Regions from separate parts of the Homo sapiens genome. Here region 2 is linked to region 1. Evidence: promoter capture Hi-C in human tissues and cell types (Jung and others, 2019). All regions are on one chromosome and are shown on one strand. Each heading gives the region's core, a stretch centred on a gene start or on the middle of the fragment in contact. The rest is flanking DNA. Distances are from core to core; before and after follow the strand shown. Region 1 holds the start of CLRN1 (clarin 1). Region 2 overlaps MED12L (mediator complex subunit 12L).

Region 1 (4,424 bases), core at 1,386-3,885:
CTGGAAGAAACAGAAAAGAGTCATCCACCTGAGCTCTCTGGAGGTCCCTGCTTTTTGCTCCAAGGAAGCCACTACTGAGAAAGTAAGGTTAGATCTTTTATTCATTTATATGAACAGGGCTTATACATTTCTATCAGGAAGAATATCAGAGGATTCTCATCCAAGCAAACGTTGATGAAACATCATTGACAGGGTAATGACATTCTGAATGGAAAAAACGTGAACCACAAAGCTGCGTTGCAATGGGAGTGTAAACTTTGAGGGTGCAATGTGTCCCAAAGGCATGTTGATTAGAAAGTTTTAACACTGAGAGGGGTGTTTATTTAAATGAATATTATCCTCTTTGGGGAGTCCATTGGATCTATTTATTTTGGTTTTCCCAACTCTGTCTCATGCTGCATTGAAAAAGATACTTTTATGCTTAGGAAAAAAAAAAAAGCTCTACTGTAAGTATTCTTAGCTGGGCCTCACCAAAATGAATGAGATTTTTAACATGTATAGTATATACAGTACACTTAATATGTATAGTCTATTGTATATTGATGGAGCTGTCACTGCAGAATGAACAAGTAAATGGAAGATTTTCTTCACTAGGCTAGGGGGAGAATGTCAGGGGTATCTGGGAGCTAATGAAATTCTGTGAGATAAGTGAGGGTACTGTTTAAACCCCACCAGTTCTGCAAGTCCTCACAGAAAGCAAAAGGAGGGGCACCCAATTAGAACAACTTCATCCTTAGACAGGACAAGCATAGGACACAACCACAAAAATCATTCGCTAAACCCCAGAAGAATGTGGCTGTGTAAGGATTAAATGAGACAAAGCATATAAAGTGCTTAGTATGTAGTAAGTGTTCAGAAAACATCTTATTATTGTTTTGAAACATGTCCTATGGCATGAGTAAAGTTTATCTCCATTTCACTGTAGAAAATGTAAAGGCTCCAGAAAATTCACCAGTACCTTCTCCGCTTTTGTCTAAATTCATCTGTGAGAAGCTTTACTCACGCTTTGGCTGCCGGTGACTCACGGTTAAATCATCTCTCTCAACTTTTTTCCTTTTCGGTTTTTTAATACAGTTGCATATCACATGACATTCTGCTTTGTTTTCTTCCTTCCCCTTCCCCAGGAAAACTAAGCAACTCTAACAGCCCCATTACCTTAATGAATAAAAGCCATTCAGTGAAAAGAACTGGTATCCACTTCATCAATTAAAAAGCTAACAACCAATTCTTGGAAATTTTCTGGAGCCCTATGAAAATTCATATCACTTAGTAACCTATGTGAGCTGAAGGTTGGTGTCCAATGACTGCTAAGAAGATATAAGGAATGTTGCAGAAATATAAATAGACCAGCACTGAAATTTAATTAGGCACTGCATATGTTAATAATAAATTCAATTAATTTAGCCTTCTACCTATACTAGAAAGAAAAAAAAAACCTGGGCAAAATAATAATTCATTTTAAATGCTTCAGTTGGTAACCTCCTTTCCTGAAGAGTGATTTATGCAGTAATTTACTGACTGTGTCTTCATAAGGTTGTTCCAAACCAGCCCTTCTGAAATAATAATAACTTCTGAATGTGTGTTGTAAGAGATATAACAAATGACTTCCTATTAATTTTCATTTAATGAGTTGCCTATTCACATGGTAATTTTTAAAAATTCTCTTCTTAAGATAAACAGGTTATAAATACTGTGGATTACACTTCCATTTCACAAAAATCACAACAAGAAAATCTCTCTCATATTCTCTACATGATTTGCAGGTCAATCAGTTTAAAATGTTCTATACTAAATAGGCATCCATTTCTTTCCCAGTTAGCACAGCAGATCATTTTAAATTTCTATAGCCAAATGATTCCAAATTAGTTAAAAATGAAAACTGAATATTTAGCAGCAGGAAAGGTCTTAGCAGGAATAATGGGAGGGAGTGGGGAGCAGGAAACAAAATCATGAGAAAGGTGGCAACCTGGTTAAATACGGAGCCCATGACCTTGGTTCTTTTTATAAAGAACAAAAAGCATAAAGATCATTCTTTACAGCTTTCCTATTTCCCCAAGTTTACTTTTTTAAAAAGACTCCATAATTTTTTACATAAATATTAATACTTAAGCATCTTAATTGCCAATATTTCCAAAAACCTTAATTATGTAACAATGAATTAACTCTATATTATAATAAAAAGCAAGTATAAAATAATAAAAACTAGGAAGAAGAAATTGCTCAGAGTCATAGGTTTTTCATATGGTTCACACCGATTTAAAAAGTCCTGCAGTAAACACGGCAAAATTCTCAAATATAATTCCTCGCAACACTGGGAAGAGTCTGCCTAAAGCATTAAATAACTCAAATGCAATTGCTACTTACATGAGAACCGAAAGGGCCTTGCTCCCAACCCACACTGCCTCACACCCTCTCCGTGGAAAAGCCCGTACTGCATTTCACCCATAAACTTGTCCAGCTCCTGCCCTGAGGCATTGACGAGCAGAGCTCCCGTTTTGCAGAGGACAGTGGCTTTGATCCACAACGGTGTCCCCAAGGCTGTCACAACTCCGAGGGCACATGCAAAACTGAACACTCCGGCCATGCAAAAAATGATTTTCTTCTGTTGGCTTGGCATGATGAGAAACGGCTTCTGTGAGGGCGAGGTTCAAAAACAAGACCTTTGTGAGCAATGGGAAGGGACTGCCTCTTTGACTGCATTTATTACGGAAGCTGAACGGACAGCTCCCAGCTGAAAAGGCAACTTCACCATCGACGGTTCTCGCCAGGTTAAATGTCAGTAGATGAAGGCCTCATCATCACTCATACTTGGCTTTTCTCCTTTTCTGCTGCTTCTTCTCCCTAATTGGAAATCTTTGGACTAAGAATCTGTAAAACAAGTCTTTCAAACTGCCTTCAAGTATCTCCTCTGTGTCACTTGGTAACAAAGGTCGAAGATAACAGATGGAGTCCTCAGTGTAACTTGATAAATGTTTCCCTTCCTCAGCCTTTTGTCTGATTGGGTGAGTTGAAACTTTCAGAAACAGGCTTGAATCTGATGGTACATTTTCAGCAACTTGAGAAGTTCACTTATCGATGTTTTTATTTTTGTTTTTTGTTTGTTATTGTTTTTGGTGGTGGGGGAAGGAGCTTTAGCAGAGGTAGGGAGAACATATGTACCTGTATTGATAGTTGATGTCAAAAATTTTTAATTACAGCAGGATAAAAATATTAAACAGAATTTGGTCCTACACGAATATTAAGTGCTCTGGATCAACCATGGGTCCTTGTCCTTCCAACTTAATTTCTCCCAGATCCATGGTTTATACCTAATGTATCAATAGAGAATTTGATTCAAATTTTTCTTGGCATACAGAAATATGAAAATGCAGGAGCAGATATCTAGATTTCTAAATGCTTTCCTTTAACAGGCTTAGCTGCTTTAGGATAATAGCAAGGGAATGTGTTTCTGGGTCCAAGGAATACCAGGATCTGTAAAGATAAGGGCATATTGATGGAAAGAGGGATGGTGGTCAGATAGGTGACTCTATGGATTCATCATAAAAATGCACAGGTCTCAGCAAAGGTAATCTGTTTGGGAGACTAGAGACAGTTATGAGCAAAGATTAAGCAGCAGGTAGGTCTGGTTAAACGGTCAAGACCTGGAAACTAAAGTTCAGAATTCAGTAACAGCTTTTTAACTTTGCATTTCCAATGAGATTCCTCCTTCTACAGACACAGGACTGTGTGTGTGTGTGTGTGTGTGTGTGTGTGTGTGTGTGTGTGTGTGAAGTGTCTAGTGAATGTTTATTATATGCCATGTTATTGTCCTGAGCTCTGACCTACAAAGTTAATGTTTAGTAAGAACTTATGTCTGGCAACTTGTGAAGTATTCTACCTAAATTATCATATGTAATTCTCATAATTAGCATATAAAGTAATGAAGAAGAGGAAGAAGAAGAGGAGGGAGGAGGAGAAGAAGGAGGAGGAGGAGGAGAAAGGAAGAAGGAAGAAGAATAAGAAAGAAGAAAGAAGAAGAAAAAGCAATTATTCGTATCTTATATATAAGGGAATTGAGGCTCAGAGAGTTTAAGCAACTTGCTGAAGAGAGTAGTGGAGCTGGGATTCAAATCCAGGTCTTCTACTTCTGAGGTTGATGTTCTATTCCAAGCAAAGCCCCTGACCTTGAAAAGATGGCAAACATTTCAGTTTGGGTTGGGTTCGTCTAGGAGTAACAGGGGCAGACTAGCCCATTATTAGTTACACATATTGAGTGTTTGAAGAACACAGACATCAGTAAATAGAACTTTTTCAGTTGGCCAAAAGCACATGTGTATGCTAGCTTCTATTCTTTTGATCCACCTTTAAGCATGACAGCTTAGAGGAAATTAATAAATGAAGACTTATTTCACACCATTTTCAGCATAAATGAGTCTCTACATTAT
Region 2 (4,772 bases), core at 1,157-3,656, 140 kb after region 1:
AAGGCTGGAATGCTGGGCTTGATTGTTTAAGGCTTTGAATGCCAGTCCTGGGCGACTGTGTTTTGATTTGGGGCCAGAGATAAGTGGGGAGAAGACCAGAGATGTTATTGAGGGTTTGTAGACAGTTATGCTAGATGCTGCTTTTTCGCTTCTCAGGGGAAAAAGAGAAGAAAGCCTTCTGATGCTTTTGGATAGGAGAGTGCAGAATAGAAAACTGTTTCAGGAAGATTCATCCAGGGCCAGTAGGCATGCTGGACAGGAGTGAAATGTGTGCGGAGCAGTAGCCGAATCCTGCTGTAACAGCTGCCTCAGTTGGTAGGGGTGGGGTGAGGGGCAGGTGGTGGGTGGGAGGGGGGTTGTAGTATTTTAAAGGAAGGAATAAAGGGGAGATATGTTTTGAGAGAAGTATGGATAGGTTTGGTTAATGATGAGTTATGAGGAGTAAAAGATTCTTCCCTTATCTTCCAGGTCTTTTATATCTGCTAACTGTAGGTGTTGCCTAGTAACAATTACATGTATCTGTGATGGGGATTATCATAGCCCAGTTTCCCAAACTGGGGTTTACAGACATCCTTGGGGGTCTGAGAGAATGTTCTTTTGGGGGAGAGGTGGACAAGGCTAGGAAATATAGCTATAAAACCATGAAAAGTGTTTTGTTTGTTCTGAGTAAGACTTGAGCTAACTCAGCCTTCTTGACTAGCGCATAGAGGGATATTTTTCTACTTCTGTGGCTTTCTCATCCCTGGTGGACATTTCTGTCCAATTCATTGAATCGTCATGGAACTGGTTTGTTAGATGTGACTAGGGGACGGAAAAAATTGGGAGTTTCTGCGCATGTTCTGTGCGATAGAGGGTGACGCTCAGGAGGTTGTGAGTGTCTGTAGTATGTATTTGTGTGCATTATCTGACTTTGAGATGGCCATTGAAAATTGTGTTAAACTGAGCTTATTTTTTTCTTGAGTGCAAAAGAGCTTAAGAAATTCCCAAACTAGCATCAAAATGTTTTCACTTTCCCAGTGAAACATTTCATTGAAATTAAAAGATTGCTTTGAAAGTGATCCAAAAAATAAGATCATTCTGTGAAGTTCAAGGTAAATGCATGAGATTTATGGATGCAGTTGGAGGTTACCCGAAGTATCGAAGGTCTGAATTTTTTTTTTTTTTGAGATGGAGTCTCGCTCTGTCGCCCAGGCTGGAGTGCAGTGGCGCAATCTCGGCTCACTGCAACCTCTGCCTCCCGGGTTCAAGTGATTCTCCTGCCTCCCGAGTAGCTGGGACTACACGCAGCCACCAGCCACCACGCCCGGCAATTTTTTTGTATTTTAAGTAGAGACGGGGTTTCACCGTGTTAGCCAGGATGGTCTCAATCTCCTGACCTCTCGGGATCTGCCTGCCTCGGCCTCCCAAAGTGCGTGAGCCACCGCACTGGGCCGAAGGTCTGATTTTTGTTATCAGTGTAGAATACAAAAATACAGAGTGAACACAGGCCTTACATATTAGCATGGACTATTTTCTGGACTTTGGTTTCTGTTTCTCTCTGTGTGCCTGTCTCCCTCGAATTGCTTTAAAGCTTGTTATTTTAGTCGAAACCAATGACAAGAGGTGTGAGAGTTCTCCTTTCTCTATGTTTGGATTACTTTGTTGTAAATCTGTTGAAATCCATGTGCACAATGGTTTGGTGCACTGCTACTCTGGGCCGCTTGGTGAGGACTGTGAATTCACATTCTCAGCTGGCATTGTCTCTTGGCTTAGTTAATACTTGGTCTTGGACATGTGTGTACAACTATTTTGCCCTAGATGCTGTTAATGTTAAACATATTTAAAAGTATGTCTGGATTCATGGTCTCTTCTGCTTCCCAACAGTTATTAAAAGTGCTTTATTTTTTCTCTTACTTTCCATGTTGTACAACAGGAAGATGTGCAGCCTTTAGTAAGAGTCCTTTTAAAAGGTTCAGTGCTGTTGATCTGGTTCCCAGAGCACGACCCTGGGAACAGGATCTTGACTAACTGTTGTGTGTGCCTCACGTTTTTGGGATCTTAGTTGCCTCACCTTTGCAGATGGGCAAAGTAGTTGCTGGAAGTTCTATTATAAGAACTGTTGGCTAGATATAGTGAACAAGCTTAAATCTCTGTAAGGAAAGGCGTCGTAAGAATTTTGGTGGCTGTTACCCTCCATTATTTCAAGACATCTTTGAAGAGGTTTGGGGCTAGTACAAGAGGAAGCTATTTGTGTCCCTTAAACATTCTGGCTTGGGGGTTTTAGAGGCATGCTGTTCCAAAATTTGGACTCTCCTCTTTCTATTTTTGCCTGATTAGACTTGACAAAAGCCTTCAGAGCAGTGTCATAAAAGTTTGTTATTTGAGTTCAGGTGACACGCATTACCTCTTGTTTGGAACCTCTTAATGCTGCCTAATACCATTAAGTGTCCATGTCCAGCCCAGTTTCCCAAACTTGGGGTCTAAGGACTCCCTGAGGCTGTGGTTTTCCTCTAAAAGGGGTCTATTGGTGCATTACTGGAGTTTGAGAAATAATGTCTAAGCAACAATAGTTAACACTCTGGAACTTGAATCTTATTCTTATCTTTTGGATTTTTGTCATTGATGTTAACTCTTCTCAGAAACTTCAGGAAATAGACCATCAAGGTGCATTTTTTTGGTTGTGATACTCTGGATTTTTACCTCCTTTCACTTAGTTTCTCTAGGTCCCTGACCTAAAGTTTTGTACTAATAAACCTCACAGAAGTGACAGCTTCTTTTTTGGCTCTGTGGCCCTAGTGTTCTATAGGAAGTTAAAGGAGTGAAGTGAAAACTTTATACGCTTGGTTCCTTCCTGGATCTGTATGTATGTTTGTGTGTGTGTGTGTGTAGCTTTGCATTTGTGCCCTTACAGTGAGAGAAGGAAGGGGGTATGGTAGAGAATTCTGAATGGACTTTTCCTCTTGGGATCTGCTGCTGTTGAGCCAAGATGGGACATCCATTTTCTTCCTGGTGGTGAGACCTGTACTGGCACTGGGCATGGAAACCCCGGTTTTCTAGAGAGGCAGAAACCTCAACTCTTCATGTTAGCATGGTCTCTGTATCAGCATCACCTGGGAAGTTGTTAGAAATACAGATTCTCAGGCACCACCCCTGACCTACTGAAGTGGGAACTCTGTGGGTGGGACCAGCAGCTGTGCTTTAGCAAGTTCTTCAGAGGATTCTGATAGATGTAAAAGTTAGAGAGCCACTGCTTTAAGGAAAGGGTCTTTTTATTTTCCCAAGAAGGTTTTTTGTATCTCTTCTGACTGGAGCTTCAGGTTATCACTTTCTGGAACCAAAAATATGATACGAACAATAGCAGCAATGCTAATTGCCAGCCATTTTTATATGGTTTGATGGTTGGGAGCATAGACTTTTTGGAATTCTTCACTACTGTGTGACCTTGGTCAAGTTAGTTTCTCTCTGGGCTTTATTTTTTTTTGAACTGGGTTATGGAGATAACATGGTAGAAACTATTACTATCCCCGTTTTACAATTGAGGAAACGGAGGCACAGCAATGGTCCCAGAGCTTGCTTAGAGTCCCTCTTAAATGGAGTAGGGGGTTTAAATTCGAGCTGTCTGATTGCAGACCCTGGGCTCTTACCCACAGTGCTGTCCCCACTCTTGTCTGCATCTCCATCAGTCAGTCTTAGCTGGTGCCAGCGTGTATCCACCTGGAACCACAACTGCGAGCCAGAGGATGGCCTAGTGAGTTGGAATTAGAGCATCCCCATTGTTGTCGTGTTGCAGCACGAGCAAGATTTTGACTGACACTTCAGTATGGAGCTCAGTGTTTCTTAAACCCAGAGCCTGTGAACCTCCTTTTCAGAATAGGGCTCTAAAAGATAAAAGCTATCCCTCTGGTGGGTCTGTGGCTCTCACTGGAAGTGCTGTGGAAATCTGGGCGGGGAAGAGGAGTTAGTTGGTTGTGGCTGCTACCATTGAGTGGGTGGGGCTGTCTTCAGTGCGCGGATGGGTGGGTTCCATGAAAAATTGTCCTGTGTCCCCTGCACTTTCAGATGTGTCACTGAAACCTTCAACTGTTTTTTTCCCATCTCAGATGGGAATCTGTTTTACGTATGATCTCAAAGTATTTTTTGTATGATTTTAATATACATTTAATACACACTGAGTTTCTGAGGAATATAACTGTTGCGTCTTACTATGTTGGGAGACTATTTTGTTAGTTTGAAACTGTAGCAAGAGTGTATCACAGTTTCAAAAAATTCATGTTATGCTCTTCCTGATCATTTGAAATGGCAATACAGCACACCTGTATCAGTTTGCATTTTGTAGTTACTATGTTGTGCTAATGCTAGGAATAGGAGCAAACATTTAACAATTTCTTTTTCTTTTTTTTTTTTTTTTGAGATGGAGTCTCGCTCTGTTGCCCAGGCTGGAGTGCAGCAGCACGATCTCTCCTCTCTGCAACCTCCACCTCTCGGGTTCAAGCAATTCTCTGCCTTCTAGGGCCCTGCTTCTTCAAAGTCTAATGTGTCCATGAATCATGTGGGAATTTGTTAAGAGGCTGATTGTGACTCTGGGGGAGGAGTGAGATTCTGCCTTTCTAACAGGCTTGCAGGTAATGCCAGTGCTCCAGGGCCATGGACCACACTTTCAGTTGTGAGAGTCCATTGTAGTGTGCCTGAGCGTTTCCTGTTGAAGTGCCTATTTTAAGTTACTTTCCTTTTTAAAAATTTTAGAACGAGAGCATTATATTGATTAAAAAATATTGATATAGGTAAGTTATCTA

What was found. The method cuts DNA at HindIII sites, captures the fragments that hold promoters and counts their contacts. A contact is called where the count stands out against the background at its distance.
Region 2: a contact is called between a fragment that was not itself captured here and the fragment with the promoter of CLRN1 in region 1, in 2 of the 25 tissues and cell types used here (hippocampus and small bowel).

Annotation. Positions count from the first base shown.
Region 1 is chr3:150,970,092-150,974,515 of GRCh38, forward strand. CLRN1 (clarin 1) reads right to left here and starts at 2,636. Exons shown (of 3, transcript NM_174878.3): 1 at 2,365-2,636. The coding sequence starts at 2,617. CLRN1-AS1 (CLRN1 antisense RNA 1) reads left to right here and starts at 2,587. Exons shown (of 6, transcript NR_024066.2): 1 at 2,587-3,002. The HindIII fragment of the contact is 11,205 bases long and covers 1-4,424 here.
Region 2 is chr3:151,107,912-151,112,683 of GRCh38, forward strand. The region is part of intron 2 of MED12L (mediator complex subunit 12L); the gene reads left to right. Among named protein-coding and RNA genes, the nearest start is that of MED12L, 25 kb to the left of the region's middle. The HindIII fragment of the contact is 3,879 bases long and covers 468-4,346 here.